4 separate regions of the Homo sapiens genome follow, and regions 1, 2 and 3 are each linked to region 4. The links are contacts of gene promoters, found by promoter capture Hi-C in blood cells and fetal thymus (Javierre and others, 2016). All regions are on one chromosome and are shown on one strand. The core of a region is centred on a gene start or on the middle of the fragment in contact, and the rest is flanking DNA. Distances in the headings are between cores, read along the strand shown. Region 1 holds the start of MYL9 (myosin light chain 9). Region 2 overlaps DLGAP4 (DLG associated protein 4). Region 3 overlaps TGIF2-RAB5IF (TGIF2-RAB5IF readthrough). Region 4 holds the start of MTCL2 (microtubule crosslinking factor 2).

Region 1 (7,206 bases), core at 862-3,361, 320 kb before region 4:
CCCCAAAAAGAAATTCTGATATACACTAAACATGGATGAACCTGGGGCTTGAGGACATTATGCTGGGTGAAATAAGCCAGTGACAAAAGGTCGAATGCTATATGATTCCACTTACATGAGGCCCCAATAAGTAGATAAACTCACAGAAAACAGAAAGATGAATGATGACTGCCAGGGGCGGGGAGAAGGGGGCAAGGTGGAGTTAGTGTTTAACTGGCAGGGAGTTTCGGCTGAGGAAGATGAAAGTGCTCTGGAGATGGATGGTGGTGATGGTTGCAAAACAAAGTGAATATACTTAATGCCACCAAACTATACACTTAAAAATGCTGAAAATGGCATGAACCTGGGAGGCGGAGCTTGCAGTCAGCTGAGATGGCGCCACTGCACTCCAGCCTGGGCGACAGAGGGAGACTCCATCTCAAAAAAAAAAAAAAAAAAAAAAACACGCTGAAAATGGTAATTTTATGTTATGTATATTTTACCACAATCAAAAAATAAAATGTAAAACTGGGACACTGAAGAAATGTGATGACAAATGATCTTACTTTGGCTCCTAGACCAGAAAAAATTCCTCTAAAGGACATTATTGGGATAACTGGCACAACCTGAATATGGACTGTAAATTAGGTAATTAAATCAATGTGAAAATTGTCCTGACTTTTATCATTGTACTATGCATATTTAAGAGAATCTCCTTTTTAGGAGGTACTCACTGAAACATGTAGAGATAACAGGACATACGTATGCAAGAAACTCTCAAATGGTTGGGGGTAGGAATAAATAAATATAAATGTATGTACATGTATTATATATATGTATATGTATATGGAAAGCAAGAAGAAAATATAATAAAACCCAATGGTAACAAATGGAGAATCTAGATGAAGCTATACAGGGTTCTTTGCACAGTTCTTCTAACTTTATCCTAAGTCTGAAATCATTTCAAAATAAAGTTTTTAAAAATTAATCTGTCCAAAATAGAGTTTCTTATCCCCAAACTGCTCCACACAGCAAACCCATCATAGAAAATGGCAGCTCTTTCTCGTTGCTCACATCAAAACTCTGAGAGTCCACCCTAACTCTTTTCTTTCACACCCATTCCCATGCCCCAGCAGATCCTACCGGCTGCACCTCGGAAATAGTTTTAGCACTTGTCCCTCGGCCTCCCCGCTAGTCCGGATCAGCCTGATCCTTGCTGGGTCGCTCCTCACAGGTCCCCTGCTCGTGGACTCGGCCCCCTCTGCGCTATTTTCAACACATCACCCAGAAGGATTCCGTCAAAACCCAAGCCAGGTCGTCACCCCCTGCTCGGAACCCTCCGACACCCCACATGGCCTACAGGGAGCCACAGAGGGGTCCCTGCTGCTTCTCAGCCCCTCCGGCTCCCGCCCCCATCCTCCTGACCTCCTGCTGCCGGCGACCCCAAGCCCGGGAGCCCTCACGGCGGGGCGCACCCCTGCACCTCCTGTCTGCCCAATGTCACTGCCCAGAGCACCCTGCGGAACAGCCCACGCTCCCCCCAGGTCCCCTTCTCCTTTGAGGCCCCAGGCCGCGGAGCTACTTGTTCATCGTGTTTCCCTCCACGAAACCAGTGCTTCCCGAGTGGTTCCTTCAACCCCGCTCTGGCGGGCGACCGCTGATGTGGACAGAGCGAGTCACCGGGCGTAGGGGTCCCTGGGAGCCCCCCCACCCACCGCCTCTGCCCTCCCCACGTCGAGAGCCGTTGCCCGTCAGGGGAAGCTGCACTCCCACGGCCCATACAAGTGGGAGGCCTCTGGGGAAGCGGCCCTGGACATTCCGTTTGCCTCTCTGGAGGGGAAGGGGTGGCCCAGAGCGAACCCCCACACCCCCTCTCCCATTGCCTGCTCACCCCATCACCTCCCCTCCCTACAAGGCCCTCTGTGCAGCCCGGGCTGGCACAGCAAGGAAGGGGGGCTCACCCCAGAGCGCCCCCGCCTGCCAGCCCGTGGGTCGAGGCCAAATAAGGCCGGACGGCAGCCGAGGGCCCCCGCACCCCGCCCGCGGCCCCGCCCCGCGCACATTCTTCTGCCTTGTAAGGCCCGGCCGCCACGCCCCGCCCCCGCCTGGAGTCCAGACCCGACGGCCGGCCCAGTTCCACGCACCCAGCGAGCCCAAGCGCCTTCTCCGCACCAGGTGGGATCCGGGGCCCCGGGGGTCTTGAGGACAGGCCTAACGGCCCAGGGCTGGAGATGAGAGGTGGCCCGGGCCCGACCCGGCTGTCACGGGGGGCAAAGGCGGGCCCCACGGACTGGGACGTGGTAGGGTCTGTTGGGCACGGACTGAGGGGTGAGCTGGGGCAGCGAGTTTGCTGGGGGCCGACAGGGACTCTGGCCAGGGGCCGGGCAGCAGGAAGGCTGTTCTGGCCTCTGAGAAGCAGTGGTCCTGCGGCAAGGGAAGGCCATCGTCCAGGCCCTGCCCCTTTGCTGAGGAGCTGGAGATGCCAAGCCCAGAGCTCCGGGGGGGGCTGGGGAGCCCGGGTACAAGGGTGCTGGGGAGAGGGTTGCAGTCGTCAGTTCCCCCTGGCCCAGTAAAGGCATGTGTGTCACAGATGGAGAAACAGCCCTGTGGGACTCCACGCCCCCACAGCATCTGTGTCCCCTCCCCATCTCCCATCCCTACACCCTGGGCCAGGGGAAAGGGACCGAGACCAGGGGGCCCTTCCGACACAGCCAGTGCTGTATGCAGGGACCCGGGCCTTCCCCTCTCTGGGTCATCTCGCCTGTGGGTGGGGAAGGTCTGCGGAGGGCCCTGATGGACTCACCCCTAGGGGGCAGGACGAGGACTAGTGGCTGGGAGAACCTGATCCCTGCTCTTCCCAGCCCTCCAGCTGCTCTAAGGAGGAGACTCAGATGAGGTGCACTGAGAAGGAGGCATCTGGCCTGCCCAGCTCCAGGGGCTGGAGGTCATGGGGGCACTGCCCTGTGCTGGCTTCAGCCCAGCCTTTTCTGTTATGGTGGGAATCTGGACACCAGGATGGGGGACATGGCATCCAGTCACATCCAGGCCAAGTATCAGTGCTGACCCCTGGTGTCTAGGGCACCTGAAGGGGGAAGCGATGGCCTCAGAACTAAAGGCCCCACCCATGCCTGCCCCTCGCCCCTCCACCAGTTCTAGAAGGCGCCTCTGGATACACAGAGCCCTTTCCCACTCCACTGCCACAGGCCCGCCTGAGGACTGGGGCTCCCTGTTTTGTTCAAGCCTCGAGGGCACCAGCAGCCAAGTTTGCTCTCCACTGACCCAAACCTAGCCCAGGAATCCTGTCTTCCAGGTGGCCCCTCCCCCTCTCATGGGCACTCCACTCCCCTTCTGGGGCCTCTTTTCCTAGCTGCACCATGGGGGCACCCCTGCCTCCGCTCACCACTTCCCACAATTGCTGGGGTGGACATGGCGGCCTTGTGCAAGCCCTTAAGTACAGTGCTCCCAGCCACACCACAGCAGAGAGTGCAGACCGGGTGGCCATGAAGGCAGAGGGGCCCAGCTGGGCTCAGACCCAGCTGTGGGTGGCCTGGCCATGCCTGCCCTAGAGCTTCATAGAGTGTGGTGGGGACAGTGATGGCCATCACAGCCTCTGTTGGGCACAGTGCACTGCCTCTCTGCATGCAGCCTTCTGTGGGCACCAGGAGTCAAAGTTCCCGAGAACACTGGACTCAGGGAAGGACTAGGCCCCTCTAAAGCACGGGAGAGGAGGGGGCCGGCATCTGGGGACAATGGCACTCCCAACTAGGTCATGGGTGAGAAGGAATTCTGTCTACCTTCCTGAACCATGCAAGAAACACTGAGGGCTGGGTGTGTCGGTCCGTGGGACACGGGCAACCACTGTCTCATGACTACAGGCAGTGATGGCCCTGGGGACCAGCTGGGGCTGGCCGGGATCCCAGTCCAGGGTTGATGATCTCAAAGGCCAAGGACCGAGAATGACTTCAACAGAGTCATGGGAGGAAGGCCTGGAAACAGCTCAAGTTGCAACCACACAGCTTGGGGTGAACAACAGGCAGAGGAGGCTTCCTGGAGGCCCTGGGCCCGGGGGTTTGGGCAGAGGGAAGAGGGGCCGCAGTCCTGGAACCTCAGCCAGGCCCACTGCCCCAGCCGAGGGAAGGAGGCACTGGGTCTTCAGGCGCATATCCCCACAAGCTGTGGCAAGCATTCAGGGAAACAGTCCCAGGCCTGGTCTCAGTTTCCCCATCTGTACAGTAGAAGCAGCAGACTGGCCGTAGTTGCCTTCATATAGTCATTCATCAAACAAGCATCTGTTAGCCCAACTATGGCCTGGGATTGGTGTAAACTGGGGGATCTATGCTGGCCCACAAGGGAGAGAGATCTTTAAGTGTTTACTGTGGAAGCAAGGGTACAGGGAACAGCTCCCTAGGAGAGGGGGGCGGTCTCAAGAACTGGGCTGGAGAAGAAAGAGCACAGGGGAGGAGGGGACCACAGAGGAAAGCCTGGGAGTGTCCAGGGAACTGCAGAGGTCAGAAGGGTAGGATTGTGGGTCACAAGAGGGACACCACGAGGGCTGTCAGAGAGGCCAGGAGGGACTCACACAGGGCCTTGAATGCCAGGATGAGGGACCCAGACTTGCTCTGAGGGGCGGCAGGAACCTTCAAGGGCTTCACAATGATAGGTGTAGGTCAGGGTCTGTATGGGACAGAAGAGGCCGGCTGGAGGCTAAGAAGCCAGGTCTAAGCAAGGGTGAAGAAGCTGGGGTTCTCAGCCCAAGCAAGCCTCACACCCCGATAAGCAGTGGGGAGTGAGAACAAGGAGTGGGACCCAGGATCAGTCTGTGACCACTCACCACTGGGGGGCTGGTCAAGCTCCCTGAGGTGGACAGGCGGGGGTTTGACTGCCCAGAGCCTCCTAGAACCTCAGGCGGGCAGCAGAGGGATGGAGTGGGAGAGTGAGGAACGGCAGGAATGCAGGAATGCTGATCCAGCTCCTTCCTGCAGGGCCAGGGAGCCTGGATGGCAGCCCAGGAGAGCCCTCACTGACTCCCACGAGTGGACCCACCTTGTCACTTGGAAAGAGAGAGGGACAGTGTAAATGCTATTAAGGATTAAAGGAGATAAAGCATGGTAATGGTTGGCACCAAGCCCAATCCTAAGTGTTTTACCCAAACAGTCACAGCCAAAATAGCTGATTCCATGCCCGGCACTGTTCCAGGAGCTCTCGGGCACTGAGTCAGTTAATCCCTACTGCTGGGCACTCCTCATGTCTCCAGTCCCAGATGAAGACTCTCGGGCTCAGAGAGGTAGAGGAAGTTGTTCAGAATCACACAGCCACACTTGTCTGCTTTTGTGAAGAACTGGGTGGTGGGAGCCCCAAATCCGTGGGCAGCCTTGAATGCCAGGCCGAAGTGCTAAAAGCCAGTCTGGGGGAGGCAGGAAGATTCCCTGGCCCAGAGTCACAGGGCCACCCAACCCCCACCCCTTCCTGCAGGGAAGCCCCACCCACCAGAAGCCAAGATGTCCAGCAAGCGGGCCAAAGCCAAGACCACCAAGAAGCGGCCACAGCGGGCCACATCCAATGTCTTCGCAATGTTTGACCAGTCCCAGATCCAGGAGTTTAAGGAGGCTTTCAACATGATTGACCAGAACCGTGATGGCTTCATTGACAAGGAGGACCTGCACGACATGCTGGCCTCGCTGGGTGAGCTGGGACAGGGACAGGGGTGAGATGGATGAGGCCAGGCAGGCTCTGCCAATCATTTACAGGGCACCTCCTGTGTAGTGAGACGCGTGGTGTCCACCTTAGAGAATAGTTGCCATTAACTTAGTCCATTCAACAGGGAAACTGGGCCGGGCGCGGTGGCTCACGCCTGTAATCCCAGCACTTTGGGAGGCCAAGGCGGGCGGATCAATAGGTCAGGAGATCGAGACCATCCTGGCTAACACGGTGAAACCCTGACTCTACTAAAAATACCAAAAATTAGCCGAGCGTGGTGGCGGGCGCCTGTAGTCCCAGCTACTTGGGAGGCTGAGGCAGGAGAATGGCGTGAACCCGGAAAGCGGAGGTTGCAGTGAGCCGAGATCGCCCCACTGCACTCCAGCCTGGGCAACAGAGCGAGACTCCATCTCAAAAAAAAAAAAAAAAACAGGGAAACTGAAGCACAAAGCAGGTCCACCACAGGGTCTGAACGTAGACAGGCTGACTCCACAGTGGGCCTGTCTTAGGCAGATTTGTGCACTGGGCTGCCAGGTATCATTTCATTTAAAGAAAGGGGTCAGCTGGCCAGGCGCTGTGGCTCACGCCTGTAATCCCAGCATTTTGGGAGGCCAAGGCGGGCGGATCACGAGGTCAGAAGATCGAGATCATCCTGGCTAACATGGTGAAACCCCGTCTCTACTAAAAATACAAAAATTAGCTGGGCGTGGTGGCGGGCGCCAGCTACTCGGGAGGCTGAGGCAGGAGAATGGTGTGAACCTGGGAGGCGGAGTTTGCAGTGAGCCAAGATCACGCCACTGCACTCCAGCCTGGGCGACAGAGCAAGACTCCGTCTCAAAACAGAAAGAAAGGAAAGAAAGAGGTCAGCATCTAAATGAAAGTGTGAACTGCAGGCTGCCCACTGCACAGATGGGGAAACTGAGGCCTAGAGGGGCGGCCAGACCAGCTCCCCTCCTTCAGAGGTCACCCATCTCAGGCTCTCATAGCCTCTCTGGTCCCAGTGACTTCCTCAGGATCAGGACCTTAGAACTAACAGGGTACAAAAATCAAGTCCAATTCTCTACTGCAGATGGGGAAACACAGGCCCAGAGGCAAGGCCTCCACAGACCATGCCCCAACCCACGGGCCTGCCCCAACATCCCTCCCAAAGTGCTGGCCACAGCCAGCCACTCTCAGCCCAGTTCCCGCGTACCCCTCATGCCGAGTGACAGCATCCAGACCAGACACTGCCTGGGGGAGGGAGAGTCCAGGACCAGAGGACACAGCCCCGTGACAGTCAAGCCTCGAGCTTTGAGGCCAGAGAGTCAGTCCCTGGTAGGGCCCTGTGCACTTTCCTCTTCCTGTGAAATGGGGCCATGACCCTGACATTTCCCCACGAGGCACTGAGCAGGAGAACCAGGCAAACCTGAGTGGGAGAACTGACAGCACGCTGCCCCCGGCCCTGAGCACCAAACCTCTCCCCGCTTCTGGCCAGGCTCGCTTGAAGGCTCCCTCCCCCAGGAGGTCACCTGGCAGGAAGTAAACTCCAGG
Region 2 (7,294 bases), core at 960-3,459, 390 kb before region 4:
ATTTTTAACACTGTCTTAATGACCATCTTAACCTTTTTTTTGTTTGTTTTGAGACAGAGTCTCACTCTGTCGCCCAGGCTGGAGTGCAGTGGCGCAGTTTCGGCTCACTGCAACCTTCGCCTCCCGGGTTCAAGCAATTCTCGTGCCTCAGCCTCCCGAGTAGCTGGATTGCAGGCACGCGCCACCACACCTGGTTAATTTTTGTATTTTTAGTAGAGACAGGGTTTCACCATGTTGGCCAGGCTGGTCTCAAACTCCTGAGCTCAGGTGATCCACCTGCCTTGGCCTCCCAAAGTGCTGGGATTACACACGCGCCCGGCCCTTCTTAACCATTTTTAAGTGTGCAGTTCATTGGCACTAAGTACATTCCCATTGTTGTATAGCCATCATCACTATCCGTCTCTTTAACTCTTCATCTTCCCAAACTGAAACTCCGTGCCTATTAAACACTAACTCCCCATTACCCCCTTGCCTGGTCCCTGGCAACCACCTTTTTTTTTTTTTTTTTTTTTTTTTTGGAGACACAGTCTCGCTCTGTCTCCCAGGCTGGAGTGCAATGGCGCTCTCTTGGCTCACTGCAACCTCCACCTCCCAGGTTCAAGCAATTTTCCTCCCTCTGCCTCCCGAGTAGCTGGGCTTACAGGCATCTGCCACCATGCCCGGCTAATTTTTTATATTTTTAGTAGAAACAGGGTTTCACCATGTTGGTCAGGCTGGTCTCAAACTTCAGACCTCCGGTGATCCACCCGCCTCAGCCTCCCAAAGTGTTGGGATTACAGGCGTGAGCCACCGCACCTGGCCAGCAACCACCATTCTTTCTATGAATTCTATTACTCTAGGTATCTCATTCACTAGCCCAATTTTTTTTTTTTTTTTGGTTTTTTTTTTTTTTTTTTTGAGATGGAGTTTCGTTCTTGTTGCCCAGGCTGGAGTGCAATGGCACAATCTTGGCTCACCGCAACCTCCGCCTCCCAGGTTCAAGCAATCTCCCAAGTAGCTGGGATTACAGGCATGCACCACCATACCCGGCTAATTTTGTGTTTTTAATAGAGACTGGGTTTCTCCATTTTAGTCGGGGTGATCTCAAACTCCTGACCTCAGGTGATCCGCCTGCCTCAGCCTCCCAAAGTGCTGGGATTACAGGCGTGAGCTACCATGCCCAGCCCTCTCTGGCCCATTTTAAGGAGATATATTTGAAGGGCAGCTGAGGGGAATGCTCTGAATAATTAACTCTTATGGTAGTGATTAATTCTCCAAGTTTGTTTTTTTCTCTTTTTTCTTTTTTTTTTTTAAGACAGAGTCTCTGTCACCCAGCTTGGAGTGCAGTGGCACAATTTCGGCTCCCTGCAACCTCGCCTCCTAGGTCCAAGTGATTCTCCTGCCTCAGCCTCCCAGGTAGCTGGGATTACAGGCACCCGCCACCACGCCCGGCTAATTTTTGCATTTTCAGTAGAGAGGGGTTTCACCATGTTGGCCAGGCTGGTTTTGAACTCCTGACCTCAAGTGATCCACCCGCCTCTGCCTCCCAAAGTGCTGGGATTACAGGCATGAGCCACCATGCCCAGGCAATTCTCCAAGTTAATGCACAATGCACATCTAAGCTTATGTGTGGCCTTATCCTGGCAGAATTGCTAAGGGACTGATCATCTGGGAGAGCCTCCTCTGCAGAGGTAGCCTTGGTTCCAAAGCCCCTGGTGGCTTTGAGGAGCCTGGCCACTGCCCCCTATGGAGGCAGGATAATGGGATGAGGAAGGCTGTGGATCTGATCACAGGACCCAAGCATAATTCCTTCATTAGCTACTTGCTCTAGGATTTGGGCCAAGTCCCTCCACCTGCCTCAGCCTCAGCTTCCTCTTCTGGGAAATGGGACAATACTTTCCAACATATTTATGACTCAGAGTCAGTGAGACAGATGATGGACTTCCTTTGCAGTTTTGAGAATCCTAGCACAGTGTTTGGATGCAGTTAAATGCAAGGAAAATAGGACGCCTGATCCCAATTTGTAGAAGTAGTGGAGACCCAGAAATACAGGGACTTGCCCAAGGTCATACGGCACTTCACTGGTAAAATTGGGCTGAAACCCAGCTACCCTCCACAAGTTGCAGCTTTTTAAGGTTTCTTGTTGGTCAGTCTTTCGAAGGACAGTAGACTTGAAATAGATGTTTGCTTTTCCGTCTTACTGGATTTGAAACATTTCTCAAGAAGCTCCAGTGTTGATGGGCCTGTGAGGGAGGATAGAGGGTAAAGATTTGGGTAGGGAATAAAGACAATAATTCTGTGTCATAGGACTAGAGTCCTAAATGACTTTCATGGTGATCATCTTGTCCAGGGACAGCAAATATCTTGCACTGGGCAATTACCCCTCCTACTGGACCCATGGCAGACAGCATCAGCCACAGCACTCCCATTGACCCCTGGATACAGCGTGAGGAGTCTTCTCGACACAGGCAAAACCAATCAACCAGAAGTAGCATGCCCAGTGGAATCTGTGCCCTCCCTAATCTAGTGCAGTCCCCTGCTTTTACAGATGGGTGGCAGTCCTGGGAGGGGAAAGGACTATGAAGGGCAATTGATGTCACAGGTCTCTTTGTGAGAGCAGAAAAGAGTCTGGCAGGACAGTTCGAAGCCTTCGGAAGTATGTTTGCAAAAACATCAGGGCAGAGCAGCTCCCAGGGGGTAGATGTTATCAAGGTAAAGTCTGTTTTCTCCAGATGTTTCTTGGGATGCTGCCTGGCCTCGGGATGTTTATGAGAGTGTACTGTAGTCAGATTCCACCAACCAGAGCAGGAGGACAAACTTGGCTATCTACAGCAGCTTCTAAGCTTTGTAGGAATGTATGTGTCAGTCTTGCCGAAGCAAGCTTGTATTTTTACTACTTGTGAGGCTGGATCCTGTGAAGGTTGCATTCTGGAAGTTGAAACCTGTAGGGTTTGTACTCACTTAGCAGATAGAACATGACTCACTGTGTGATCCCGAACAGAGCCTTCAACCTCTCTGAGCCTCCTTTTTCCTTAGTAGCACAGGGGTGATGATGAAAACATCTCCTTGAGGGGATCAAATGTAAGATGCAGAGGTTAGGACCTCAGATGGTGATTGGGCTACTGCAATAACCACCAATTCCTGAGCAGGTGAAAAACATCTGGCAACTGTGATTATTAGCCACTAATGTTCAGCCACTCCTCAGTGTGGCTGACCCTGTGCCATTGTTGGGGCAGAGTTCTATGGACAGGATGGGGTGGTTGGTGACCTTCTGATTGGTAGATGTTCTTTCAAAGACATCTTCCCAGATGTTACCATGTTGTGCTTTCAGAGGTAGTTGAGAGGAACGTTGAGTGGGGCGGGCTCTGTGGGCATGAGGGGACATATAGTCAAGACTTGTTCCAGCATCACTGTCATCTGCTTGCCAAGTTGTCTCTTACTCTTCTCTACTTAGAGTCTTCAAAGTCTTCTAGGATGAGGGCTCTGCCAGCCTGTGTCATTTTTAGGGTGAAATGAGAGGGTGGGGTTCTGCCTCCTAAGTGTCAACAGGCATTCACCTGGGTACCTCTTTTGAGCCAGGATTGGAGGTCACAGGGATGCCACCCTGCCTTCAGGAGGCTCAGGGTCTAAAGGAGGAAGCAGAAAAGTAAAGAGGTTTGTAAAAATAGTGTGGTGGGCAAGGGCCTGTGGTGTGCCTGAATGTGGGATGTTGTTCAGTGAGTGAGCCAGGGCAGGGGCCTGGGAAGACTGTTAGGGAAGGCTTTTTGGCAGGAGTGATGCTGGAACTGATACCTAAAGGAGGAGGCAGAATCAGTGAGGAAGAGGGTGTTCAGGCAGCACAGAGGCCTGGAAGCTGAGCATGGTGTGTTGGCATGAAGGGGGTGATGGAGAGTTAGAGGGGTGATTGACAAGGCAGAGAGGCCAGTGGTCCCTACACTAAAATGTTAGAATGGTGCTGCTACAGTGCGGTGTCGAGGGGCTGGATGGTTGGGGGTGCTGGGCAGGGCAATGAATCTTCCCGAACTTAGTCCTTGGACAGGATGAGACCCCTCATTTCTGCCCCAGGCCAGAAATCCTCAGCTTCTGGCATGCAGAGTCCATGGAGGGCCTGGGATTGGGCAGCAGCTCCGTGGGCCCTTTGCTCAGGAGATGTTTAGGCTCCTCAGGCAATTGTAATGACAGTTCCTCACCTGCCAAGCCCTTTCCCACCTGTCTTGGGAAACTCACAGCAGTCCTAGGGCAATAGACAGGGCAAGCCGCATTATTCTCATTTTATAGATGGGAGAAATTCAGACCCAGGAGCTTAAGTCATACACTGAATGAAGGCTGATTCCAGGGATTCCTAACCTACTGGCAGTTTCTGTCATAGCAGGTATTTTGAAGGGGGCAGGGTAGCAAGTATCAGCTGATCTCCTATTCTGAGGATGGATTTATCATCTCAGATGGGAGCTCTTATGCAGCTAGACTTCCCAGACGAAGGTGTTTTACTTCCAGACTTTGCTGTCTGAAGCCCTGGTGTTAGTCCTCACAAGATTTCCCGTGTGGCTAGGCTGTGTGAACATTCTCATTTTGTATTTCGCTGTTTGTTGATAACAATTCTCCGGAGGTAGGGGGGTAAAAAAGACCAGTGGCTCACGCCTGTAATCCCAGCACTTGGAAGACCAGGGTGAGATGATGGCTTGAGCCCAGGAGTTTGAGATCAGTCTGGGCAACATAGTGAGACCCTGTCTCTACAAAAAATTAAAATTAAAAAAATTAGTCAGGAGCAGTGGTACATGTCTGTAGTCCTAGCTACTCGGGAGGCTGACGTGGGAGGATCACTTGAGCCCAGGAAGTTGAAGCTACAGTGAACTATGATCACACCCTGTACTCCAGCCTAGGTGACAGAGTGAAACCCTGTCTCTAAACAAAAAGTTGGCTGGGCACGGTAACTCAACGCCTGTAATCCCAGCACTTCAGGAGGCCTAGGTGGAAAAATTGCTTAAGCCCAGGAGTTCTAGTACAGCATGGGCAACATAGTGAGACCTCATCTCTACAAAAACTAAAAAAATTAGCCAGGCATGGTGGTGCACCCCTGTGGTTCCAGTTACTTGGGAGGCTGAGGTGAGAGGATTGCTTGAGCCCGGGCTATCAAGGCTGCAGTGAGCTGTGATCATACCACTGCACTCCAGCCTGGATGACAGTGAGACTGTCTCAAAAAAAAAATGTTGAACTATGAATGTCATGCACACAAAGATGATGTGTGGTATCACGTCCAGAACTGGATGTAAAGTAGAAGGGCAAAGAGCGTCTCAGGCCCGGTAGGAATCTTAAAAGTCACACCCATGGGGACTTCAGTTTCCTCCCTGGCATCCATCCTGCCTGTGTCTAGCCTGGCTGGCCATTTTCTAGGTCCTTCTTCCATCTTTGGCCAGCTCTGCTTCTTAGAAAGCTCCTCTTTATAATTAGTCAAAATTTACTTCCATTAACAATCCCCACCTTCCTTTTCCCCTCTGATTGTAGTGTGACCCTCTGGGGCTACATGTGTATTTGACAGTCTTTTAGGTATTTGAGGACAGTAGCCATGCCCTTTTAAATTGTCTCTCTTCTCCAGGGTGACCATCCTAGCCTCTCCAAGCCATCCCTCACTTTACGCTAAGCACAACTTTTGGTGCATATGTGTCACACGCCCCGTTTGTGACAAGTCCGTCCCAGACACACTAATCACTTGTTGAATCAGTCCTGGGCTTTCTCATGCAACTCCATATGGCTGCCACAGTGCCCAGTCAGTGGAGGAGGCTTTTCATTGTCATCTCCACATTTCTATGGGTTTCTTGAGGACAAGGACTACTCATTCTGGGTCCCTAGTGGCTGGCACTGTGCATGGCTTTCCCTCTGTAAATAAGCATTTGCTGGAATGGGGTGGAGTTGAGACTTCTCCCTGTGTGGATCACCTTCTGTCTTCAGGTTCCAGTTTGACGATATCCCTTGCCTGGAATTACCTATGATACCCTCAGTATTATCCAGAGTTCAGTGGGGACTGCGCCCTCTCTGGTCCTGTGACTTTCCTGTAACAGTGCATCCTCAGTGTCTGTGGTCAGCTGACGTCACTAAGCCATTTTTCCACATATGCCGCTTTTCTTGTGTAATTGTCTTACTTGGGTTCCCAAACTCAGGGTCTTAATATAAGCTCTGAGGGAAAAAAAATCCCTCTGTTTTTCTGTGTCTCTGTCCCCCGGGTGTGCCTGGCACAGAGACAGGCAGCATTACCTCTGCTGACCTGAAGTGAACTCACGGTTTTCCCCATTCAGTCCTGCACTATTCGTCTCATCCCAACTCTAGGCTGCCGAGGGATCTTGGCTCCTACTCCTGTCACCTGATATGCCACCTGCCACTCCAGGCCCAGTGAATGAGCTTGTTAACACTGCCTTTCTATTCTGGGATTCGCTTGGTCATTCAGAATGGTGAAAGAGGCCAGCAATCGAGGTGCACAGGGCCTGGCAGCGTCTGGCTTTGCACACTGGACACACAGCCTATGACAGTTGGTGAAAGCCGGGCTTTTGTGACCTATCGCCAGGGTTTGAAGTCAGCCCTCCATTGACATCAGCCCTCCAGAAGTGAGGGTAGTTTTTTTGAGGCTCTTTCCAAGTAATACTTCCCAGGCTGGGCTCTGGGATCTTAGGGCTTTGGAAAGGTAGCAGCAAAGCTCGTATGATACAGCCAGTATTTGAAAAGCCACATTTTGCATTCTCTACCCTCAGTCCTTCACCAGACCAAGCGGGCTGCACATGTCAAGTTTTTGCACTGGGCTGGAGCCGAGGCAGCTTTGTAACTGGGCGGTTTCTCCTGCTTACTAGCACCTGCTTCTCGTGGGTTGTTTTTTTGTTTTTGTTTTTGTTTTTTTGAGACAGGGTCTAACTCTGTTGTCCAGGCTGGAGTGCAGTGGCATGATCTTGGTTCACTACAACCTCTGTCTCCCGGGTTCAAGTGATCCCCACACCTCAGCCTCCTGAGTAGCTGGGATTACTGGCATGAGATACCATGCCCGGCTAATTTTTGTATTTTTAGTAGAGACAGGGTTTCACCATGTTGGCCAGGCTGGTCTCAAACTCCTGACCTCAAGTGATCCCCCTGCCTCAGCCTCCCAAATCGCTGAGATTACAGGCATGAGCCACCATGCCCGGCCAAATGGTTATAGCTTTGATAAACAACAAGATCGTGATTTAGTAACAGTAGCTTGGGCGCTACCATCTCTTTAAAGCTTGGATTCCTAGGGATGATGGTAATAAGGTGTCCAGGGTGGGCTGGGGCAGGGACCACTGAGCAGAGCTCTTGG
Region 3 (7,675 bases), core at 3,556-6,055, 260 kb before region 4:
TAAATATGGAGCTCGAATTCAAATTCAAGTCTGTTTTCCTTCAGGGTCACTCAGGTCTGCCCAGAACCTACCTGAAGTAATATAGTGGTCACTTACTAACATAGTATCATCTAGCTGTCTAGAACAGTGCTGTGGGCTCAGCACAAGAAGTTTCTTCTGTGAATGAAATCTTGGTGGTCTCTCCTACAGGTCACTCTCCTTCAGGAATTTGGAGAGAGAGCCTCCCCACTCAAGTTTCCCAGATTAAAGAGCCTCAGCTCCCTCAGCCATTCACCCAAGGTCCTGATTTTCCCCCATTTCTCTCTCAGTATCTCTCAAACTGCACACTTGGCCCTGGAGCTCAGCAGAATAGGCACATGCTGTTACAGCTTTTCAAAGTAAGTTTAATATTCAATTCACATCGGCCGGGCGTGGTGGCTCATGCTTGTAATTCCAGCATTTTGGGAGGCTGAGGCGGGCAGATCACTTTTGAGGTCAGGAGTTCAAGACCAGCCTAGCCAACATGGTGAAACCCCGTCTCTACTAAAAATACAAAAATTGGTGGGGTGGGAATGGCGCACCCCTGTAATCCCAGCTACTCGGGAGGCTGAGGCAGGAGAATCGCTTGAACCCTGGAGGCGGAGGTTGCAGTGAGCCGAGATCATGCCACTGCACTCCAGCCTGGGCGACAGAGCGAGACTGTCTCAAAAAAAAATAAAAGGAACTGAAACCAAAAGTGTCTTCTGCATCAAGCTTCAAATGAGCCCTGGAGTGAGCAAGCACTCTAGATAATGAAAGTGAACTGCGGGATAATGTGGCTAGGGCCCCTCCTGTGACGCTGGGAACATGATCTAAGGACATCCACCTTTTTTATTAGAGTCTCATTCAGGAAACAGCTTTTAAATGTATCTGCCCTGGTCGTGAATACCCGCTGTCTCTTTGGGCTGGCTATGTATAGCCTGGCCGCCTCTCTATACCCTTGTTCTTTTTTTTTTGAGACAGATTCTTGCTCTGTCGCCCAGGCTTGAGTGCAGCAGTGCAATCTCGGCTCACTGCAACCTCCGTCTCCTGGGTTCAAGTGATTCTCCTGTCTCAGCCTCCTGAGTAGCTGGGATTACACGCACGCACCACCACCCCTGGCTAATTTTTGTATTTTAAGTAGAGACGGGGTTTCACCATGTTGGTCAGGCTGGTCTCAAACTCCTGACCTCATGATCCGCCTGCCTCAGCCTCCCAAAGTGCTGGGATTACAGACGTGAGCCACCGCACTCAGCCTATACCCTTGTTCTTAATAGGGCTAAGATGATGCTTCAAGCTTTTGGGTATCGATTTTGGACTTTGCATTAATATTTTTTTTGTTTTGTTTTGTTTAAAAAGGTGGCCGGGTGGCGTGGTGGTGCATGCTTGTAGTCCCTGCTACTTGGGAGGCTGAGGCAGAAGAATCACTTGAACCAGGGAGGCGGAGGTTGCAGTGAGCTGAGATGGCGCCGCTGCACTCCAGCCTGGCCGACAGAGTGAGACTCTGTCTCAAAAATAAAATAAAATAAAATAAAGGTAATGGTAGTGATTGGTGGGGAGGGGATCTGCCATCCTCTAGATGGGTGGTCAGGGAAGTCCTCTTCCTTTCCACTGTTTTTGAATGGTAGTTTCTCCATGGCCCCCAGGCTTAGAACCTTTTTTTTTTTTTTTTTTTTTTTTTTTGCCTCAACTTAGCCCTAGGAATAAGCATCTCTGGGGTAAGACTGAGGACTCTGGATTTTAAAAGTACAGTCTAGCTTGAAAGCTGCTACATGGGCTGGGCACGGTGGCTCATACGTGTAATCCCAGCTCTTTGGGAGGCCAAGGCTGGTAGATCACGAGGTCAGGAGTTCGAGACCAGCCTGGCCAAGATGGTGAAACCCCATCTCTACTAAAATTACAAAAATTAGCCTGGCGCGGTGGCAGGCACCTGTAATCCCAGCTACTCGGGAGGCTGAGGCAGGAGAATCGCTTGAACCCGGGAGGCAGAGGTTGGAGTGAGCCGAGATCGCACCACTGTACTCTAGCCTGGGTGACAAGGCAAAACTCCGTCTCAAAAAAAAAAAAAAGAAAAGAAAGCTGCTACATGAAAACTCCATATGGCAGAGGCCAGGTCTGCCTTGTATGGCTGTATCCTTGCTATGTTATGCACTAGAGCTGCAGAGGATAAGGTGTGGCACTCGAAGGATGCAGAAATAACCATCACTGCTGTCAGTGTTACTGATTTCAAAGGCATTTCTCTATGACCCAAGCCTGGTTTCAAATTCTTGGTCTGTCACTGATTAGCTGTCATGACCATAGGCAAGACAGTTCACTACTCCAAACTTCAGTTTTCATCATCAATAAAGTGGGAATAGTAATACTTACCTCTTGGGAGGATGAAATAGGATAATCTATACGTTACTATCTATCCTTGCTCAGCACACAGCTGAGGGAAAAACAACCTGTAAAATAACTTACCCCATACCACACAGCTTTTAAGTGGCAGAATTGGGCCTAATTACCCAGAGAAGTAATTCTCAAGCCTAAATATCCATCAAGATCATCAGGAAAGCTTACAAAGATGCATATTCCCAGACCTCACGCCCAGAGAGTCTGGGCAGGAATCTGCATTCTTCACTGATGCCACATGAGATTCTGATGATCTTGCTCCAGAGACCTTCACCATTCATTATCAGGACACTGACCTATCCCCAGGAAACTACTGGGCTGGGAAAGTAGCAACTCTTTGTCTTTCAAAGTTACAAGATGAGAGGAAGAAGGGTCTCTGAACCATCTGACGTCTTTGCTCCCAGGAGGCTATGGTAACTTGAAGGTCAAGTGTAGCCCTACCATTTTAATTACCAAAGTAATCCACACACGATGTAGAGAAATTGCAAGTAAAGGTATAAAAAGAGAAGAGTTTAGCATAATGGTTAATGGTTAAAAGCCCAGCCAGGTTTTGGATGAAAACGAATGTAGCCAGATGCAGTGGCTTATACCTGTAATTCCATCACTTTGGAAGGCCGAGGCGGGTGGATCACCCAAGGTCAGGAGCTTGAGACCAGCCTGGCAAACGTGGCAAAACCCCATCTCTACAAAATACAAAAATTAGCTGAGCATGGTGGCAGGTGCCTGTAGTCCCAGCTACTCCGGAGGCTGAGGCAGGAGAATTGCTTGAACCCAGGAGGTGGAGGTTGCAGTGAGTTGAGATTGTCCCACTGCACTCCAGCCTGGGTGACAGAGTGAGACTGTCTCAAAAACAAAACAAAACAAATGAATGTAAAACATTTAGTGAAGTGACTGGTAGCTAGTGAGGGTTCATTAAGTGCTAGTATGACATTTATTGTGGGCCAAAAAGAAAAAAAAAGACCAGGATGCAATCTCAGACCTCCATTCCAACAACAGGTGCTCTTTCCATGGCTGATGGTTGCCCCCAGGATTTCTGATACCTGTGATCCATCAGTGCCTGTGAGGGGCCAGTCTTACCCCTCAGAATATACCTTCCTCTCCAAACCCCACTCCAAGCAGCTGGCAGTGCTATCGAGGCATTCAGCTGGGAAATAGCCCTAAGGCTGAGCTCATGTGTTCAACTAGTACTAAACAGCTACAAACTCACAAAGACAAAATTTGTCCTACTTCCAAATCTGTCTCTCCCACTTTCAAATCTGACCCTTCATCAAGTTATTTTCCAACTCAGACCACCCAAGATGTTTATTTTAACCAGACGGATTCACTGAGATTCAGCCAGGTTCCCCGCTTCCTAAGATAAGGAAAGCCTTGGGTGAAAGCAAATAGGGAACAAGTCTGAGTCCCAAAAATACCTTTTAGACAAGGGCTTCCCCTCTGGCTGCCAGCTTAGCTTTGTCTGCTCCTAGAGAGGTAAGAGGAGGAACAGGGATCAGGTTTCAGATGCCTGTTGAACTTCTAACTTCCCTTATGACCTTGGGCTACACTGCAGGATTTGAGGACCCTTCCAACTAGAACTTTCTGTGACCTCTCCCAATCCCATGCAAACATAATGGCTCTTGGAGTTACGGTCAGAGCTTCGCAATGTAATACAAACATGACCTAGAGCCGGACGCAGTGGCTCATGCCTGTAATCTCAGCACTTTGAGAGGCTGAGGTGGGCGTATCACTTGAGGTCAGGAGTTCGAGACCAGCCTGGCCAACATGATGAAACCCCGTCTCTACTAAAAATACAAAAATTAGCTGGGCATAGTGGTGGGCACCTGTAATCCCAGCTACTTGGGAGGCTGAGGAGAATCCCTTGAACCTGGGAGGTGGAGGTTGCAGTGAGCCAAGATCGTACCACTGCACTCCAACCTGGGTGACAGGGCGAGACTCTGTCTCAAAAAAAAAAAAAAAAAGAAAAAGAAAAAACAAATATGACATAAAAAAATACTGTCTAATGAGATGCTCAATCATTACTAATCACTAGGGAAGTGCAAATCAAAACCACAGTGAAAATACTACTTTGCACCTAGTAGGATGATTATTAACAGCAGAAAAAGGCTGAGCACGGTGACTCACACCTGTAATCCCAGCACTTTGGGAGGCCGACGCAGGCGGATCATGACGTCAGGAGTTCCAGACCAGTCTGGCCAACATGGCAAAACCCTGTCTCTACTAAAAATACAAAAATTAGCTGGGCATGGTGGCGGGTGCCTGTAATCCCAGCTACTTGGGAGGCTGAGGCAGAAGAATCGCTTGAACCCAGGAGGCGGAGGTTGCAGTGAGCTGAGGTTGTGCCACTGTACTCCAGCCTGGGCAACAGAGCGAGACTCCTTCTCAAAAAAAAAAAAAAAACATGTATCTCCGAACCCTTGTGCACTGCTGGTGGAAATGTAAAATGCCGCAGCTGCTGTGGAAAACAACACTTCCTCAAAAAATTAAAAATAGAATTACGATATGATCTAGCAATTCCACTTCTGAGAATATGCCCAAAATAACAAAGCAGGGACACAAACAGATATTTGTACACTCCAATTCATAGCAGCATTATTCAGAATAGTCAAAGTGTAAGCAACCCAAATGTCTATCAGTAGGTAAGCAACATGTGGTATGTACATACAACAGCTTTAAAAAGGAAGGAAATTCTAACACATGCTACAACGTGGGTGAAACTGGAGGACATAATGCTAACTGAAACAAACCAGTCACAAAAGGACGAATACTGTACTCCTATGAGATACCCATTAGAACAGTCAAATTCCTACAGAGAAAGTAGAATGGAACTGGTTTCCAGGGACTGGGGAAATGGGAGAATGAGGAGTTATTTTTAATGGGTACAGAGTTTCAATTTTACAAGGTGACAAAGTTCTGAAAATGGATGGTGGTGATGGCTGCAGAACAAAGTGAATACACTTAATGCCACTGAACTGTACACTTAATAAGTGTTGAAATGATAAACTTTGTTAGATATATTTTACTAAAATTTAAAAAACAATTTTTTTTTTTGAGAGAGTCTCTCACTCTGTCACCCAGGCTGGAGTGCAGTGGTGTGATGATCACAGCTCACTGCTGCCTCTACCTTCTGGGCTTAAGCAAGCCTCCCACCTCAGCCTTCAAATAGCTGGGACTACAGGTGTGCACCACCATGCCTGGCTAATTGTTTTTTTCTTTCTTTTTTTTTTTGTGGAGACGGGGTCTCCCTGTGTAGCCCAGGCTAGTCTTGAGCTCCTGGGCTCAAGTGATCCTCCTGTCTTGGCCTCCCAAAGTGCTGGGATTACAGGCATGAACCACCATGCCAGGCCCTTAAAAATATTTTTAATTTGGTTGGGTGTGGTGGCTCACACCTGTAATCCCAGCACTTTGGAAGGCTGAGGCAGGCAGATTGCCTGAGCTCAGTAGTTCAAGACCACCCTGGGTAACACAGTGAAACCCCATGTCTACTAAAATACAAAAAATTAGCCAGGTGTGGTGGCGCACACCTGTAATCCCATCTACTCCAGAGGCTGAGGCACGAGAATCACTTGAACCTGGGAGGCAGAGGCTGCAGTGAGCTGAGATGGTGTCGCTGCACTCCAGCCTGGGCGACAGAGCGAGACTCTGTCTCCAAAATAAATAAATAAGTAATATGTTTAATTTAAAAAAGAACGGGCTGGGCATGGTGGCTCACGCCTGTAATCCCAGCACTTTGTGGGGCCGAGGTGGGTGGATCACCTGAGGTCAGGGGTTCGAGACCAGCCTGGCCAAACATGGTGAAACCCTGTCTCTACTAAAAATACAAAAAAAATTAGCCAGGCGTGGTGGCGGGCGCCTGTAATTCCAGCTACTCGGGAGGCTAAGGCAGGAGACTCGCTTGAACCCGGGAGGTGGAGGTTGCAGTGAGCTGAGATCATGCCACTGTACTCCAGCTTGGGCAACAAGAATGAGACTCCGTCTCAAAAAAAAAAAAAAAAAAAAAAGAACTGTTGAATCCAGTTTTCTGCATCTTCAGTGCCCTCACCAACTCTCACCTAAATGACTTTAACAGCCTTTTAACTAGTCCCCCATTCTGATCCAGTCCCCCAAATAGCAGCAAGCATGATCCTTCTAAGATGCAAACCTGATGGCTTCCCCTACCCCTGGATAAGAAGCAAACTCTTCAGCATGATTCTCCCGTGCTTCCCCTCTGGTGGCTTCATTCCTTACCATTAGCCCACATGGTTTCATTTCCCTAAATGTTATCTCCCACCTTCACCTCCCTCTTTTCCTTCTAATGTCTTCCTTCAGAGTTTACCCTTCCCTAATCCCCCCAGATCAGGTTCCCCATTATACATCTTCACCAGGGGGAGACCTGGCAGAGTGAAAACTTACCTTTAGGCCAAGGGCTAGTCATTCTTCCAACATTCTGTGACAGATTCATTAGTTTGTCTTCTGAACTACATGCCAGCAGGGAGTCTGTAAAAGAGGTTTTGTAACAATGGTACACTTCCAAACCAGTCAGTTTGGAAGCTCTTGGCCCTCTGAAGTTTCCCTGAAAATCAGTGATATGAGGCAGATTGATTACCAGGAAAAAAGGCATACAATTTGATTTAACGTGTATACACAGGAGTCTTCAGAATGAAGACCCAGCTCCCCAACTCCCCAATAAGGTACAGAAGCTTCTTTTTTTTTTTTTTAGATGGAGTTTCGCTCTTGTTGCCCAAGCTGGAGTGCAATGGCACGATCTCGGCTCACTGCAACCTCCGTCTCCCAGGTTCAAGCAATTCTCCTGCCTCAGCCTCCTGAATAGCTGGAATTACAGGCACATGCCACTACGTTCGGCTAATTTTTTGTAATCTTAGTAGAGATGGGGTTTCTCCATGTTGGTCAGGCTGGTGTCGAACTCCTAACCTAAGGTGATCCACTCGCCTCGGCCTCCCAAAGTGCTGAGATTACAGGTGTGAGCCACTGCACCCGACCAGGTACAGAAGCTTCTGTACCATCTTGAGGTTACAGAAAGAATGGGGGCTTGGATCCTGGTAGAACAGGTTATGGGAAGGGGGAGCAAGGAATTTTACTGAGGGACAACAAATGATTATTAGGAAGAATGGATCAGAAACAGAAATTAACCTGTAAATAGTTATCTTTGGAATTTAAATTATTCTTGGAGACAGTCATTACCTTGAAAAAGGGTCTGTTCAGGTGTGGTTACACTGTCTTCTCTTCTGCAATAGAAAGCGAGATAGCTGGGTGTGGTGGCTCACGCCTGTAATCCCATCACTTTGGGAGG
Region 4 (7,156 bases), core at 2,194-4,693:
AAATGTACACAGTGAGAAGTGGCATGGGCTGGCCTTGCTCTCCTCTCTTACCCACACTCCTTCCCCTCTCTGGCCTTAGCGCTGTTCTTGAACTCAACGAGCATTCCAATTTCCCTTAGCCTGAAATCTTCTTACTCCAGACCCTCACTCAGTTGGCTCCACGGCATCCTGCAGCCCTCAGCCTCCCTGTGCACCCCAGCCCCCACCTTCGTGTGCTCCTGGCAAACTGTCCCCTTTACCCTCATTATGATCTGTGTTGTGATTTCTTGTATGACTATTGTTTAATTCTGGTCTCCCCAAAAGCTCTATGAAAACAGACACCTCATCCTCCCTTGTCCACAGCTGTATCCCAGATCTGCCCTAGCACACGGCAGGTTCTAAATAAACAGCTGCCGAATGAACCAATGAGGGGCCAGGAGAAAGAGCCCAGCCTGCCTTGGGTGATGAAGAGGATCTATTCTGCCCTCACAGAATCCACAAGAGAACAGGCTGGGTGCACATGGAAACATGTCCCGTGCCTCTGACAAGAGCAGTGATCAGAGGTTTACTACATACCAGGTGCTCTAATGGTGTTTGCAGGAATCAGCTCATTTAACCGTTGAGGTTGGAAAGCGTGTTACTGTCCCATTTTTACAAATGAGAAAGCAAAGGTCCAGGGCCTTTAAGTAACTTGCCAAAGATCACGCCGTCAGGAAGCGACAGACCCCAGATCCAATAGCAGCACGAAGCCTGAGCCACTGAATGAATGGTGGAAATTACGGTTCCATCTTGGCCCAAACGTGGGATGTCCCCAGCTGGACCCCGGCCCCTGTGAGATCCCGGGCTCAACCCCCAGCCTCCTGGGACTGTTTTCCCCTTTAAACAGTCATGGGTGCCTCAAACAGACTTTGGGTCAGAGCCTGATGACTTCCTGGGATGGACAGGGGCCCATGGAGATGGGTGCCTAGGAGCCCTGAAGCAAAGCTCTGCAACCCATCCCCCTTCACCAGAGTGAGTAGCAGGAACCGGGAGGCAGGGGTGAGGAACTCAGAGTTTCGGTTAAGGCCAATTCAGGCAGCACTCACTGGAAGCAGCTCAGAGCACCAAGAGGGCAGGAGCAAAAGACCCTTGTCCTGGCTCGTCACCTCCCTCCTCCTCCTCACCTTCCACTTGCCCTCTCCTTACCACCGGCTTCTGAAGACTCAAAGAGCCGACTGAACTCCCAGTTGCCAACACCGAACCCGGCCCTTGGGAAGACATCCTCCCATTTAACGGATGAGGAGACTGAGGCCTGGCTTGGGGAAAGGTGTCTCTTGATTCAGACAGACCTTGTCCTTCCATACTACAAGCATTTACAGAACTCAGGCTGGAGAGCAGATCCCGGGGAAAATGGGGAGACAGAGACATAGTTGAGCAAGACACCAACACTCTAATGAGGGAGAAGCCCATTTGGTCAGAAGAGCCACAAGGAAAAGTTAAAACCTAAGTGCTGAGGGCAGACATAAACCAGCAGCATGCTGTGAGCTCCACAGCCAGGGGCACTCTGGGTGTTGTGCCAGGCCATCATCCACTGACAAGAGTCGGCAACATTTCAGCCTCCTCCAAAACCGTGCCCAGCCAGCGGCAGGAGAGCTCAGGAAGCTTCCAGCCTCCCAGGGAGAGGTCAACACGTGCAAGCTGGGCTGTCCCTAAAGCTGCCATGGCACCTGGAAGCGTGCAGATGGAGCCCGGCTGGCACCCAGTAGGTGCTCATGTCCACTGAAAAAGCAAAGGCAAAGCCTGCTGTCCGGGGGAAGCCCTAGGGTCCCCACATGGCCACAGGGAAGTCCTGTTCCAGGTGGGCAGTTGCCCTCCTCTCACTGCGAACATGGAAAGGCACTGGCCACGAGGGGCCAATGGGGCTGTTGTGTGCACAAGGTCTGCCCCAGGGAGGGCAAAAGACACTGTCCTGGGATTTAGGAAGCTGCCTCTGAACCGGTTCTCCCACGACATCATCCTCCAGGCTGTGGGACCGTTAGGCTGGGCGGAAGTGGACTCCAGCCAAGGGGATGTTCCCAGATGTCATGCTTTCAAACTGGACCCGCCCAGAAAGGCAGGCAGAGACAGGCCTGCGCCCGGGAAAGCCCTGGGTAACGACTCAGGATGGCATTCAGGCCTTTCCTGGGCAGGGGATGGCCACAGGTTTCCCTGGCGGCGGTGTCTATCAATCCCGTCCCAAGAAGGAGAGCCTGGGCGTGGAGGTTCTGGGCAGCTGAAGGCAGAGATCCATCCCTTCCCTGGCTACCCACCCCCACCTCAGCAACGCCTCCCAGAACGCTCCAAAGCTTTCTCAAGTCCCCGCTCCCAGGTTAGGGCCCTGTAGCCAGTTCCAAGGTCTTTTTCAGGAGCGCGCTTCCCAAATAAAGTTGAGAGGGGGCGGGGGGAATGAGGGAGCCCCAGATCCACCTCAGAGTGGTCCCCAGAGGGCTTGGGCCCCTTTCTCCGGATTGTTCAGTGGGAAGGAGGGCCGGCTGGTGCCTCAGGCCCGCGGGACTGTGACAGCCGGCGACCCCTGCGACCTCCCTTTCTACCCGGGCGCCCCCACCTTGAGATAGTCGTTCTCCGAGCGCAGCTCCTCCAGCTCCCGCACCAAGCCGCTGGGCCCGCAGTCCAGCATCTCCTCGGTGAGGTCGGAGAAGGCAAGCGAGGCGCTGAGCGGCAAGCGGCTGCTGCCCACCGACGACGCGGCCACCGACGGCTCGTCCGGGGAGGCGGGCGGCCGCGGGGGCTGCTGCGCGGAGGGCGCGGGCTGGGCCGGCTGCCCCGTACGGACCCCCGCCGGGCCCCCGGCCGCGGACTCGGCGTCGCTGCTCAGCGCCAGCTCCAGGCCCAGCAGGCGCGCCTCCTCCGACGCGCAGTCCGACACCTCCGAGCTGCTATCCGTGAGGCTGGGGGGCGGCGGTGGCGGTCGCGGCCCCGCACCCGAGCGCGGACGGCCCTTGGCACGGACCCCGGTGCGGACCCCGGCCACCCGCACACCCGCACCGCGCGCCCCGGGAGCCACTGCGCGCCCCTTCTTGTCCGGCCGTGAGGAGAACGCGGCGCTGCAGGCGACTGCTGAGCCCGGGCCTGGGCCGCGGCGGCCCTTAGCCAGCGACCAGCCGGCCACGTCTTTGGGCCGGGCCGGCGACGGCGCGCGGTGGCTCTTTTTCCTCTCCGGGGCAGGCGCGGGTGCAGGCGCGGGCTGGGGACCGCAGCCCCGGACCGGGGGCTCGGCCGCCGGCGCCTCCATCGCGGCCTCCCTCGGCCTCAGCGAGCTGCGCGCATGGCCCAGGCCCGCCCGGCCTCGACGTCCCTGGGGAGGGACCCGGCGCGGCTCCGGCCGCTGGGGCTGCGGCTGCTCTCGGCCCACCTCGGCCCCGACACCGCGTCCCCGTCCCAAGCCCCGCCGCGCGGTCTCTCCGCTGCTCTGGGCTCGGAGAGTGCGGCCCGACCGCCTCCAGGCGCCCCGGCTCCGGCTGCGGCTCCGCCCGGCGCCCGCCCCCTCGGCCTCGCCGCGCCCCCGGAGCGCGCCCGGGCCCCCGCCGCCCGCACGCCGATCGCTCCCTCGGGCTCCGAGTCCGGCTGCGGCCCGGGCCCCGGCTCCGCCCGGCGCAGCCCGCCCCCCGCGCAGCCCCGCCAGCTCCCCGCCCCGCCGCCTCGGCTCGGGGGCGCGCGGTTCCGCGAACAAAAGGCGGACGCGGCGGGAGCGGCAGGGAGGGACGCAGGCAGGGAGCGAGGGAGGGATCTGCGAGGCAACAGCGACCCCTTCGAGGGTCAGGCTGGCGCGGGCAGCCGCGGCCCGGGCTCCCTCCTCCTCCGCTCCGCCGCCTCCTCCCCTGCCCGCTCGGGGAAGGCACCCGGCGGAGGCGCCCCTGCGCCCGGCGTCCGGGCAGGGCCTGCGAGAGCGGCGGGAGCCGGGACTCCCGGGCCGAGGCCGGGCGGACCTCAGTTCGCAGGAACCCGCATCCATGCACGCCCAGCGCCTCGCCCCTCGCCCCGTGCCGAGCGTGCGCGAACTCCGCCCCCTTAGCCGGCATCGCCGGAGCCGCGATCCCATCGCACAGATGCGTAAACTGAAGCCTGGGGTGCACGCGCCAAGCTCACGGTCTAGGCGGCGCCGATGGGACCCAAAGCTCACACCTCCCGGGCGCGCTCGGGCTCCCCCTGCCTCGGCTTCCCTCTCCTGGCATAGGGACCGTGAAGCCCTGTGTGCATGCCTGGCTCGCGCACCTTGACCGGCGGATATTTCTCCCCATGCGCCCCCGACCCGGGTTTCAGGCTCTGTACGGCTAAAATGGAAGCGACCCGTAGCTAGGCGCGGTGGCTCATGCCTGTAATCCCAGCACTTTGGGAGGCCGAGGCGGGTGGATCACGAGGTCAGGAGTTCGAGACCAGCCTGACCAACATGATGAAACCCCGTCTCTACTAAAAATACACAAATTAGCCGGGCGTGGTAGCGCGTGCCTGTAATCCCAGCTACTCGGGAGGCTGAGGCAGGAGAATCGCTTGAACCCGGGAGGCGGAGGTTGCAGTGAGCCGAGGTCGCGCCACTGCACTCCAGTCTGGGTGGCAGAGCTAGACTCCATCTCAAAAAAATAAACAAATAAATAAAAACAAAAATAAAATGGAGGGGACCTATTACGAGATGTCAGCCTAGCGGATGCTTTGGAAGGCGGTTTTGGCCCCCGTGGGGGCTGGCATGGGCTGGGACGGTTGCCCTGACCCCACACGTCCCCACCAGGAGCAGTGCAGGAGGACTTGAGCTCTGATGGGCGTGTTTTCTTTCCTCCCGGGCGTCTGGGCGTCTCCTTGGCTCCTGGCCGTGTTGATTTTCCCATGTCTCTCACACCTTCCCCAGCCCCCACACCGCCTGGCCGCTACGCCCCCATCCCTGAGCCACCGCAGGGCAGAGCTGGATTGAGTGCTTTGCCCCACAGATGTACCCTCGTCCTTAGGGTGCCCCACACCCCTTGCCACCAGAAGGGCAGGGCTGTTTTTGCCCCTTTACAACCTCTTTCTCCTCCTGTTCTCTCCTCCCCCTCCCATTTATCCCCTGCTCTTTCTTCCTCCTTCTTCTCCCATCTTTCCCCTTCCTTTCCCCCCTCCTTTTCCAAGTCTTCCTTTTCCTCCTCTTTCCCCTCTTCTTCCTCCTGCCCATTTTCTCCTTCTTCTTCCTCCCCCAATTCCCTTCCTTCACCTCTGCACCTGCCTGTGACACAGCAGGCACCAGGTCCACTTCTTTGTCTCTGTCCCACCTCCCCCACACGCTGTGAATACACTCCTGGGGCATCCCCTCTCTCCAGAGGCATGACTTCATCTGGATCCAGGTGAGTGAGTGCTCCTCCACCCCAACGCTAGGTGCCCTCCATACGGCCAAGTGAGGAGCAGGCACTCAGCAGGCTCTTGGCAAACACTTCCGCAGGGGCATCCCCACCCCCTCCTAGCAAGACACCAGCTCCCCTCACGGCCCACTGACTGTCCACAAACCCTGTTTGCACAGGCGCCAGGTACACTGAGGGACGCAGTGGTGGGCATGTCAGTGCCTGAACTCATGGAGCACACAGTGTGTGTTGGGGGGGACCACAAAAGACTCAGCACAAACAGGGTGGCATGGCATGTGGGCAGGAGTGCTGGAGAAGGATGTGGGAGCCGCAGGCTAGTGACCCAGGGCAGGCCTTCCCACATTCCGGGCCTCAGAGTCCCCACCTGCTCTGGTCTAATGTAACAGATGACAGGGTCCATCCAGCTCAGATGCCCCTGGCTCTAGTAGGCTGCATCTAGTCTGGCACAGAAAGATGCTGTGAAGCTCTTGGAAAGTGTGTCCTCTCTCTGTGCTTCAGTTTCTGCCCCTGTGCAGAACATAGGTTTGGAGGTGTTGGGTGGTGTGAATGCAGGGACATAGCAGACCAGGCTGGCTCAGCCACTCCTGACACACCCTTGGTCACATCAGTGGTCCTGAGATTAGAGTGGCCTGCATCTCTCTTCTAGGGCAGGGATCTGAGTCCTGGCTCTACCACCTATCCTCTCTGGGCCCAACACTCATGGCTGGCCAGGGAGGGGCCTGTGGGTCCCACCTGCTCTGAGGTGCTTTGGATTTGGGGAGTCAAGAATCTACATTGTAGACCCAGGGAAGCCTTGAGAACAACAGGGCTCTGGTGGGGAGGGACTAGGTGGGGCTGACGTAGGGGCTGTGGACTCAGGGTCAGTTCAGACCAGGGATACCACAAAGGAGATAAGACTTGTTGAGAGTCCAGAACTGGCTACATTGTAGACGGGGTGACCGTCCTTGCGCCGGCACATCCTGCAGCTGTGTGATGCGTGGCCTCTTCCTGTGTGCCGGGCTCTGTGCTCCACATTTCAGTAAAGGATCTCCAAAAGGTGAAGATACTTCTTGTGACTGATTAATATTTTCCAAAGGGTATATCTCATCCCAATTGCTCTTCTTACAATGTGACACTGATGCTCCTCCAATTGAGCGGCACATGTGTGCGGCACGTGTGTGGGGGCACTGTGTGCCCCCACCTTGAATCTCAGCAGATCTTGTGACTGTCTCAACCAACAGAGTATGGCAGAAGTGTTCATCTGTGACTTCCAAGGTTAGGTCATAAAAAGCAACATGGATTCCACCCAGCTTGCTTCTCTCTCTCTTTCTCTCTCTCTGTCTCTCTGGCCACTCACCCACCATGATAGGAGGAAGCCCAGGCCTCATGGGGAGACCGCATGAAGGTGATCTAGCCAACAACTCCAGCTCTGGTCCCCACTAACCACCAGACATGTGAGAGAGTGAGCCTGCAGATGATTCAGCCCCCAGACTTGGAGCTGCCCCAGTGGACAAGTGGAGCAGAAATGAGCTGTCTCACCAACCCTGCCCAAACTGCAAAATAAGTATTGTTGTTTTCGGCCACTAAGTTTTGGGGTCATTTGTTACATAACACTGGGTAGCTGGAATGTGTGACCAAGGTCACACAGCTTGGATGTGGCAGGGCTGGGATTGACTTGAACCCAGAGCTGCCCAATTCCAGGGCCTGTTGTGGTACCCTATTGGGCTGCGAAGTGCCCAGCACAGACACACAGTGTGTGCTGCAGAAAGCGCTACTCAAAAGAGACTGAAGCATTACCTTGTAAGAATTATATAACATAGGAAGTGAAGATGCTG

Evidence for each region. The method cuts DNA at HindIII sites, captures the fragments that hold promoters and counts their contacts. A CHiCAGO score of 5 or more calls a contact.
Region 1: a contact is called between the fragment with the promoter of MYL9 here and the fragment with the promoter of MTCL2 in region 4, in 12 of 17 cell types (endothelial precursors, total B cells, M2 macrophages and 9 more). The highest score is 12.6, in endothelial precursors.
Region 2: a contact is called between a fragment that was not itself captured here and the fragment with the promoter of MTCL2 in region 4, in 1 of 17 cell types (endothelial precursors). The highest score is 5.9, in endothelial precursors.
Region 3: a contact is called between a fragment that was not itself captured here and the fragment with the promoter of MTCL2 in region 4, in 2 of 17 cell types (endothelial precursors and M2 macrophages). The highest score is 5.5, in endothelial precursors.

Annotation. Positions count from the first base shown.
Region 1 is chr20:36,539,408-36,546,613 of GRCh38, forward strand. MYL9 (myosin light chain 9) reads left to right here and starts at 2,112. Exons shown (of 4, transcript NM_006097.5): 1 at 2,112-2,154; 2 at 5,452-5,661. The coding sequence starts at 5,478. The region is part of intron 2 of DLGAP4-AS1 (DLGAP4 antisense RNA 1); the gene reads right to left. RefSeq lists a silencer at 1,933-2,132 and enhancers at 2,913-3,566, 3,567-4,220, 4,221-4,874, 4,875-5,528. The HindIII fragment of the contact is 13,527 bases long and covers 1-7,206 here.
Region 2 is chr20:36,475,828-36,483,121 of GRCh38, forward strand. The region is part of intron 7 of DLGAP4 (DLG associated protein 4); the gene reads left to right. Among named protein-coding and RNA genes, the nearest start is that of MYL9, 62 kb to the right of the region's middle. The HindIII fragment of the contact is 1,221 bases long and covers 1,600-2,820 here.
Region 3 is chr20:36,595,132-36,602,806 of GRCh38, forward strand. The region is part of intron 2 of TGIF2-RAB5IF (TGIF2-RAB5IF readthrough); the gene reads left to right. Among named protein-coding and RNA genes, the nearest start is that of RAB5IF, 6.8 kb to the right of the region's middle. RefSeq lists enhancers at 588-957, 4,957-5,026. The HindIII fragment of the contact is 4,513 bases long and covers 2,550-7,062 here.
Region 4 is chr20:36,860,095-36,867,250 of GRCh38, forward strand. It overlaps MTCL2 (microtubule crosslinking factor 2), which reads right to left and starts at 3,444. Exons shown (of 15, transcript NM_080627.4): 1 at 2,564-3,444. The coding sequence starts at 3,250. RefSeq lists silencers at 3,044-3,193, 3,264-4,153, 6,995-7,064. The HindIII fragment of the contact is 4,947 bases long and covers 2,302-7,156 here.